Regions from separate parts of the Homo sapiens genome. Here region 1 is linked to region 2. The links are contacts of gene promoters, found by promoter capture Hi-C in blood cells and fetal thymus (Javierre and others, 2016). All regions are on one chromosome and are shown on one strand. Each heading gives the region's core, a stretch centred on a gene start or on the middle of the fragment in contact. The rest is flanking DNA. Distances are from core to core; before and after follow the strand shown.

Region 1 (4,683 bases), core at 944-3,443, 490 kb before region 2:
TCGGATCCCTCCCTACCTCTCCCGGTCCCTCGCAGGACTCTACATCGCCTTCGGCGTTTCCTCTCCCTCCCGCAGTTTCCACCCTTCGGCTTGTCTTACTCTCGGCTCCTTCGCCCACCCTTTCCTCCCCATCCTGTCCCCCGCCCCCACTCTTCTGCAGTTTGTAACTGAGAGCGCCCCAAACAACCCCATCAAGCCAATAAACCCAAAATGTGAGCACTGCCCAAACCCGTGTGCTTATCCTGCCGCTTCTAGAAGGCAAATTGATACGGGGTGGATTTGGAACGGCTTTCTCAGAGAGGCCCGAAAGCTTTCAAAAATTCTAAGTCAGGAGACAGCTGGCTGTTTTCTTAGCACCTCTGCAGCGCTGAGGATGTCTTCATCCTCCTCAGACACCCCCAGCCCGGGGATGTTAGCCCATTGCCCAGATGGAAGACAGAGCAGGGAGGTAACCCCAGCGGTTACAAACTTGATTCTTCTCATGTGGTGGACTCCAGTCTTTTGAATACGATCTCTACCTCTTGTTTTCCCTTCTTATTTAATTTCTTGATGTTTTCTTGGATGGTTTAAGCGACAGGAGGAAGAGAGGGCAAAGGCAGCCCCCGTACCTTTCAATAGAGTGAAATGGCCTGAAATTACAGCTACATAACTATCAAAAATGAAACTGTGTTTGTGAAAATCTGTAACCCTAGCTATGTAATTGGAGACATTCATGAAAGAAGGATATTGCACAGGTGAAAGTGATTTTTCAATTGCTTTCATATTTTTAATATTTTTCCAAATTGTTGAGAGGACTTTTCCTGAATACAAGGATGAATGTTTCGGCTTGGAAAGTTCAGTGTAGCCCTAGTCATTGGAAGGCTACAGTTATCATAAATTGCTTTTAAAGTGTTTATTAAAGTGATTGAAATTTGTTTCTTTAAAAAAAAATAGTCTCTGAACTTGCAAACTTCCTACCTTACCAAATAGACTTTCCTGAGACTTGAAAATGGTTCCCATGAACTTTCTCATGGCAAAATTACACAGTAAACATGTTCCTGGAACTCTTTTTTAAAAGGAGTTGGAGCCCAATCTTCACAACCATTCATTTTCCTGCCAGATTCTTTGCATTGGGCATTTCCTTGTGTGCCTGGGACCTTACTGTTGTTGAAGCAGAAGTTCTCATATAGGAAATTTTGCATTACTGAAGAACTCTGCTTTAGGGCAAAGGCTGAAATGATACAGGTTTAGGCATCCCATGCCTACTGAGTGAGAGGTCATCGCATTAAATATTTTGAGCATGCTGACAAGGTAAGGAAGATGCAGAAACTCCTGACCAGATTCATGAAGGCTGAAGACAGAATTCTAAGCAGTCCCTTGTTTTGCATGAAGCACTGTGATATTGAGGAAGAGGAGGCGTTAAGATCGGAATTGCCCAAAGTGTCTACACACCTTCATATTTGTTACTAATTATCACCCCTTTTCCACTTCTCGTTGTGTTTGGCCAGCCCTGAATACCTGGAGACTGATCCGAGAACTGTTTGCTTTCGTTTCTTCCCACATATTTTTATTAACAACTTGAACTGATCCTGCCTAATCCAAATTCTTATACTTTGATCTTGTTCCTTAGCATCCACATTAAAGAGTTTTTCTGTTTCCACCAAATTTTTACCTCCCCCCCTTAACTTTTTCCCTATGCTAGTTCTCTCTGCTTATTATTCTCCCATTTATTCTCTCGACTTGAGGTTTCTGTGATGGTTACTTACATTAGTGACCACATTGCCAAAGCACCTTCAAAAGTAACTGATGCCCTTTATTACGTACTGGAGTTGCGTTTAACCAGGGAATCCTCATCAAGCCACAAAGGTGAGGGAGAAAACTGAGATAATTACATACAGGTAACAGGGCAAAAACACTGTTTTGTCTCATCATTGAGTTTTTTCCAAATGAATGTTTTTAAATTAGAAATATCAGATTAATGACTGTAATAAAAATATAAATTGCCTCTTTCCAATGTGTATTCAGGCCAGGATCCTCTTCTGCCAGTGACACCATGAAACAGAAAAGTTGTGTGTCTGGCCCCCAAATGCTTAGTTCCTGTTACTAACAATCGATATGGCGTTCTTCTTTGTAGGGAAACCTGACCTTAGAGGAAATGGAAAAGTTGGAGAGACACTGAGCACTGATACGAAATAATTCTCTTGCTGAAATACACGAAAGGAGTCCCAGCAGCCATATTAGTATTTCCACGTCCTGTGTCAGCCCCAAGTAGAGAGAACTTGGAATGGGAGGGGAAATGGCAGCCATCAGGAAATGAAATGCTGGCCCAGAGAATTCTAAGCAAGTCAATCACCAGTCCAAGTAAGGAGGTGTTTTTTGTTTTTGTTTTTGTTTTTGTTTTTGTTTTTAAATATCCACTTGCCATTTGTTTTACCCAATTCAAAATTTTTTCCCAAGAAAAAAAAATACACTTGTAAAATGCCTCATTAACAGCAAAGATGAATTGGACCTCAACTTTTGAATGCCATGCTGCTTTAAAGGAAACTGTAGAAGTTCGTGGAATGAAAGAATACTGCCAGCATGCATTCGGACTATTTTCCATCTGTGTGGTAGAGTCTGAGCTGTGTGTTCTACAGAAGCTCCAGTTGGCAGAAGGACGACTTTGGCCCTGAATTTTCATTTATTTTTGTTTCAAAAATGAAAGGATAGTTGCTATTTTTCCAAAATTTAGAATTTTAAATCACTACCCACTTTTGATCTCTGATTTAAATCTTGTTTTGAGAGACACATTAGACAGTCTCTACATATTATATTATCTTGCAAGGGAAAAAAGGAGAAAGATCGGAAAGTGCTGACTTTCTGTGTCAAATGAATGGATTATTGGCTTCATTCTTCTTTATTTTATAAAGGTTTTCTTTTCAAGAAATGCAGAACTTTACCAATACAATATATATCAGTCTAATCGGCAGTCATAAAATGGGTGGCATGAGGGTGGAATATGGCAGCAGGGAGATCTCAGCTGGCAGCAAAGCATGAAGTGGTGATTGTGTTTTTATGGAAAGCCTGTTTTGTCCAGTGGCTGATGAAATTCAAAATGGTCCCCTAAGCCTATCTCTGAAGCCAGCAGTTCAGAAGCAGTAGAGCTAGCGGCTCTCTTAACATCTGTACCCTGCCCCCTATTTACCCAGCGACACCCCAGCCCAGAGCACCTCCAAATGTAAGACTTAATATAACCAAATGGAAGCTGCTAGGAGGTACTCAGTTCCAGGATCAACAGTTTTTGCTTTAAAAAGAAGGTAGCAGTTCAGCCCCTTGTTTGTTTTTGCCTACGCATTTCCCTACCAGCGGGAGACCATTACCCGGGACAATGTTTTATTCCATTGTCATTATCTCCTACGGAACTAAAACAATGCTCTGTTTGGCCTCCCAGGCAAGGGGGATTTGTTCCGCTCTTCTTTAAGCAGAGTTTCCAACTGAGTTTCTGACCCAGTCACTTGATATCCAGCAGGGATACCTGGTGACAATTTTTTAAAAATCTGCTATCTTGTGTTTTGTAATTTCATTCTCTGAGAAGTAGCCTAGAAACTCGATTCTCAATCAAGAGGAATCACACCATGGCTAAGGGAAGAGGGTTTGCTCAAGCTGCATGAGCTCTATAATTTAAATCAGCCAGATAGGATTTATTTATAGTTGTTTTATCTTTTTTTGTTTTGTTATTGAATAGCAAACCCCAAAAGGTTTCATAACATTGTGTTGTTGATTCTCAAACCCCAAAAGGTTGGGAACCACTAGAGCTGAGATGTTTTCCATTAGACCAGGGTGTTTTTTTCTATTTCTTTTTAAATACATAAGTAAATTATAAATGTAGATAGAGATGAGATTGAGATAGAGATAAATGATGCCAAGATTTCTAACATTTATGACAGATGTTGATGAACAATAACTCGTTGGAGCTATTTTGTCATACTTGAGATTTTCCAGAAAATAGAACAAGCCCACAGAATGGGTTTAATCTGCCAAAGCATCTCCCTCTTTACAAGCATCTACACAGGCCTCCAGCCCTAAGTACTTTCACCTGGACAATGTTATGAAGCTTAATCCAGTACTAGTAGCAGAAAGACTTGTTTACTTTGGAGCTAAGGAGTGAGTAGGACACTTAAGACTTTGTTTTGTCCTTGGACTCAAGGCAAACTAATGGTTAGCATCACTCCAGTTGTTGCTATCATTTTATTACTCATATGTAGCTATGAGTAACTTGAGAAACTGAAATGTAACTGCTGCATATAATAAAAAATCAATGGCCAAGACTGGCTACCTGAGGAGACTGAGTCCCATGCTAATGAGGCTAAGATTTTATACTGATTTTGTTTTGCTCTGAGATGGTAATCTAATAACCCCCGTCTCCAGCAGCTCGGTGGCTGAATTGGTGGAAACCTATCCTCAGATGGCTAGTGGAGAAACAGTTCAGAGCCCAGATCATGCTGGAGAGCAGGAGAGCCTTGGTGAAAGATGAAATGGCAAAATGCTTAAGAGTTGGGGATCAGGAGGCAGACACACCCACATTTGAAGCCTGGCTCCCCCATTTGCTCTCTAGGTGATAGAGCAAGTTACTAACCACTCTGAGCTTCTGTTATTTCTAAGAGTAGAAGAAATAAAAGGAATAGTGCCCCATTATTTGTAAGAAAGTGTGAATGACAAGGTGCA
Region 2 (4,548 bases), core at 502-3,001:
GCAGGCATGAATAAATGCTGAGTAACAGACAAGTTACAGACAGGAGGGGAAAGAGGAGGAACCATACAACTGTTTTTGCAAAATGATGGCTGAGTCCAGATTATAGAGGTTGCCTTACCCTTAGAATGTTATTTAGACCAAGTTTAGCTTTTAGAGTCCAGGTCTGGTTAATTGCCAGGGTAGCAAAGAATCGCATGCACCAATGTAAACAGGAGTCAGAATGCATTATTAGTCAAAGATCGAATTTCACATTGTAGAGATGTATAGCTGTGATTAAGCTGCATATGTATGCTGGGAAACGGCTTGAGTGGATGGCTAATATAAAAGTTGTTGGCCATAATGCCACACCTCTCATCTGCTTGAAATATGGACCAGTATTCTAAAATATCAGCTACTGGGGTCTCATTCACTACAAGATAAATTCAAACTTCACAGAACTTTGCAGCAGTTCACCACCAGACGGGACTGTGTCTGCAAACTCTCTTGTCTTCACAGACGCCTAATAAAGCAAAACTCTGAATCTCATGTGGCCCAGATTTTTTTTCCCCCCATCCTGGGTTTGCAAACTGCATGATGGACACGTCAGTACTGATCTCCCTCTCTACCCCATCTCAGGTGGTGGAGAGAGAGTTTCAGTTTTTTCCAGGTGCTGTAAGTTTTCTTAAGTTATTCTAACAAGACTAGGCCCTTTGTTTGCTGGGAACCAAGGCCCCATCGATGGGCACAGAGCCCCTTTTCTCTGGAAGAAAGTGGTCTAGCCAGAGGGAGGGCAGGTAAGCAGAGTGACCACTGCCAATGCCACTGCACCCCAGTGTAAGTCATTAAAACATGCAGAAGGCCTGGCTGGGCTCTTGCCCCTGGGCATCCCAGCCGTCACGTGAAACTGGCTGTGTCCAGAGCCTACACCTGAGTCGCCCTCCACAGTTGGCTCTGAAAGCTTCCTGATGGCCCGAGGTATGTTCTAAATGGGGTGATAAAAGAGAGGTATAAATGGTGGTCGGCTCCACCAGCCTTCATTTGCAGTTCAATTTTCAGAAAAGTAGAGGTAGGGAAGGCCGGGAGGTGCAGCAAACAAGCGTGTCCTGGAAGTAGCGCAGCTTCAGCGTCATTTTCTGTAAAGGGAGCAGCCAGCACATGCTGGTTCATAGGGCGGACATCTTGGTGGGTTTCAATTCAATGAGAGGAAGTCTGGGTGTCCCTCCAAGAGTGATTAGAAAGAAGGATGACTCACCTTCCCCAGGTGGACAGCCACTCCTCTCTGCCTTCACCTGTCCCGGCCACCTGAAAATCTGCCCCTCCTAACAGGAGACAGGGAGGGAGGGGCTGCCAGGCCCAGGAAGCTCCTGTATTGGAGGCGCCAGGGCCCCCAGGCCTCGCCTCCTCCCGCCCACTGCCGGCCCCGCCCCCTGTTCCCGCCCACCCGCTTCCCCGGCCAGACCTGCAGACCCAGGCGCCGCAGTGTCTACACCCGCAAAAACGCCCGCTTTGACTTAGAGCCCTCCGCATATCCTTCCCCTGGCTGGGGCAGCCAAGGCGCGGAGGACAGCTCCGAGGCCAGATGTTTACTGCGCAGATGCCCGACTTTACACCGGGGTCCGGGCTGTGCCGGGCGCTGGGGGAAGCGCCCACCTTCCAGGTGGGACCGCGGGAAGGGTGGGGGAGGGGCAGGCTGGCGGTGGTGGGGCCTTTGTGCTCCACCGGGTGAGCGCACAAAGGCCTGGTGGAAGGCAGGGATCCTGGGCGGCCGGGCAGAGGCCAAGTGGGCACCGGATAGCGCCAGCCCCGCCCAGGTGAGCGCTGAGGTGGGATTGGAAGAGGGTGGCTAGGAGGGGCCCTACTTTCTACCCACTCCTAGCCCCCTTTCTCAGGACACCGCCTTTCTTCCCACCCTCCTCCCTGCCCACCTCCTCCAGGCAGGCTTATACCCCAGCTGATGCTTTTGGGCAACATATCCTGTCCCTGAGAGTTTAGAGGTCATCTGTTCGCACCCCCTTTCACTCTGGAACCCTGAAACCAGTTACCTAACCTCTCTGTGCCTTATTTTTCACATTTATAAAATGGGGGTTCCAACAGGAACTCATTCTTAGGGAAGCTGTGGGGATTAAAGGAGAATGCGGTTCTGCTGCAACCACATGGGGATAGCCAGTGTTCCCTGTCTGTTGCCTTTTTAAATTGGGGAATGGGTATAATATAGCATTTATATCATGGGGCTGTTGAGAGGATTAAACAAGCGTGGAAAGCTTTCAGAAAAGTAAGCAGGTGGTCAGTATGGGTGGGACATGGTCTCACAGCCAGGTCTGTCTGACTCCAGGCCCAGTGCTTCCTCCCAGGAGTCAGGTACGTGATGCCAGGGGTTAGAGTGGCCTAGACGCGGCACAGTCCTCACTGCTGTCAGCCTGGCGGGGGCTGAACTGTCTTAACAATCCCCATCATTGCTGACTAAGCCATGACTGTGGCCCTCTCCTCCACCCTGAATCCTCTTCTTCCAGCCTCAAAGGCATTTCTTTAAAGAGATGAACTGGCTCAGCAGGGCAGGACTTGGCAAGGCCTCAGCCCACTTGGGGGGAATGACCAGCGATACCCAAAGAGGGAAGGTGTCTTATTGCAGAAACAGCATCCACATAAACTGATGTTTCAGTGGAGCCCCCTGAAGCAGAGGGTGGCCTCTGCTTACCCTCCTTGGACTCCATGTCTGCCTTTTGGGACTTCCTGATTCCTTCAAGCCAGAATTTCTTCTCCCTTGTTTGTGTGTGTGTGTGTGTGTGTGTGTGTGTGTGTGTGTGCATGTGTGTGCCGGCGGGTGGGGGGAGGCTTCTGAGCATTGCAGGATGTTCAGTAGCATCCCATCCCCCACTTCTGACAGCCAAATATGCCTCTGGACATTGCCAGATGTTCCAGGGGTAATGGTGGGGGCTGGCAAAAATCACCACTGCAACCTGATTTCACCTGGATCAAGAAGGAGGTCTGGGGGTGTGCGGGCCTCATCTCTCTCCTCACCTGAGGCTCATGAACCTAACACAGGGGCTTCTGGGCTTGCTCAGAAGCTTTGCATTCCCAGCCTCTATCATGTTTCACAGCCATAGTATGAGTACAGTTCACAATTGTTGGATGGCTGGAGGTCGGATGGAGGGGAGAGGAGACCCTGGTAGGTGTGATCTACACACTGTTATCCAAGTTAACATAAAAGGTGATGGGCCCTTGGTAATAGGTCATTGGTTTGTGACTGAAGCCAGCTGTGTCTCTGGCTTTGGGTAAGGTGGTAGTGCTGCCTCTCAGCCCCAACTCCTGGCAGTCATTCTTCCACTCCCAAGAGCTTGTGCACACTCAATAGTAATTCCTTAAGGCAGTGACTTTTGATGAGACCGTTTCATTCCCTCTTCCCTCCACTAACAGAGAGCGAAATCATGGAGCCTTCCAAGACCTTCATGAGAAACCTGCCAATCACACCAGGCTATAGCGGTAAGTGTGGACGTACCCTGCAGCTGTGCCTGGCAGGGGAACCCGGGTCCTGGTCACTGTCCCTGCCTTGACCCACTGTCTGTGTCTGTGCAGCCAACTGGACCAGTCTAGGCGCTCTAGCTTCTCAGACATGCATTGAGAGCATTCCATCGCTGAAGATGGCTGATGGCCGGGTTCTGAGGGGCAGAACTTAGACCACACGTCCCAGAACATGGCCTGGTATGCAGAGGAAGCACTTAATGCCTGTTGAATGAATTTGGACCAGGATAGACACAATGTGATGAGGATAGACACAATGTGATGAGGATAGACACATGAATAAGTAGAGGCCCTGTTCTCCCCAAGTTGGTTTTCTCAAGTCCTCCACAAAGGTTATTCTTGTGCTCCCATCCTTTCCTGCATCCCCTAAAGGAAGGCTGGCCAACTGCCCTGGTCTACCTGGGACTGCCTTTGTCCTGGGACTGCCTGGGACTTTCCTTAACACTGAAAATCTTGCATTTGGGAAACTCCTCAGTCCTTGGCAAACCAGGACGATTGGTTGCCCTACCTAGAGGCTATTCCTCCTCAGGCTTCTGGGCTACTGAGAACTTACTAAGTCATATCCCTGTGGGTGACAAACCCAGTGGTCCCCACAGACCCTTGGCTCTCCCATACAGCCGTTCTCAGGAGGAATAGTACTTGGGTGATATTCCAGGGTTGCCCAACCTCACTCTGGTCCTAATGGCTGGTTGAGAATAGGCTTTGGGTTCTGACAAGCTGAGGTTCGAATCTCTGTTTGGTCACTGTCGATGAGACTGTAAGTAACTTGCCTCTCTGTGGTAAGTACAACATTCTATAAAATGGATGTATTTGTTTTCTAGGACCACTGCAACAAATTACCACAAACTATGTGGTTTAAAGTGATGGAAATGCATTCCCTCACAGTTCTGAGGCCAGACGTCTGAAATCGAGGTGCCCGCAGGGCCATGCTCTTTCTGAAGGCGCTAGGGAAGGATCCCACCTTTGCTTCTTCCAGCTTCTGGTGGCCCCAGTGTTCTTGGCTTGTGGCAGCATCTCTCCAGTCACTCTCTTCATCCTCACACGGCATTT

The links. Contacts are between HindIII fragments. The CHiCAGO score rates a contact against its expected background, and 5 or more counts as called.
Region 1: a fragment that was not itself captured here is called in contact with the fragment with the promoter of SPMIP5 in region 2 in 4 of 17 cell types (naive CD4 T cells, naive CD8 T cells, non-activated CD4 T cells and 1 more); the score reaches 9.6 in naive CD4 T cells.

Annotation. Positions count from the first base shown.
Region 1 is chr10:117,158,271-117,162,953 of GRCh38, reverse strand. MIR3663HG (MIR3663 host gene) reads left to right here. Exons shown (of 3, transcript NR_121651.1): 2 at 2,114-2,340. Among named protein-coding and RNA genes, the nearest start is that of MIR3663, 7.2 kb to the left of the region's middle. RefSeq lists an enhancer at 2,838-3,594. The HindIII fragment of the contact is 3,762 bases long and covers 313-4,074 here.
Region 2 is chr10:116,667,169-116,671,716 of GRCh38, reverse strand. SPMIP5 (sperm microtubule inner protein 5) reads left to right here and starts at 1,751. Exons shown (of 6, transcript NM_001350931.2): 1 at 1,751-1,790; 2 at 3,394-3,459. The coding sequence starts at 3,405. It overlaps HSPA12A (heat shock protein family A (Hsp70) member 12A), which reads left to right. Exons shown (of 12, transcript NM_025015.3): 12 at 1-525. HSPA12A-AS1 (HSPA12A antisense RNA 1) reads right to left here and starts at 1,662. Exons shown (of 3, transcript NR_187551.1): 1 at 1,439-1,662; 2 at 1,232-1,323. The HindIII fragment of the contact is 1,303 bases long and covers 940-2,242 here.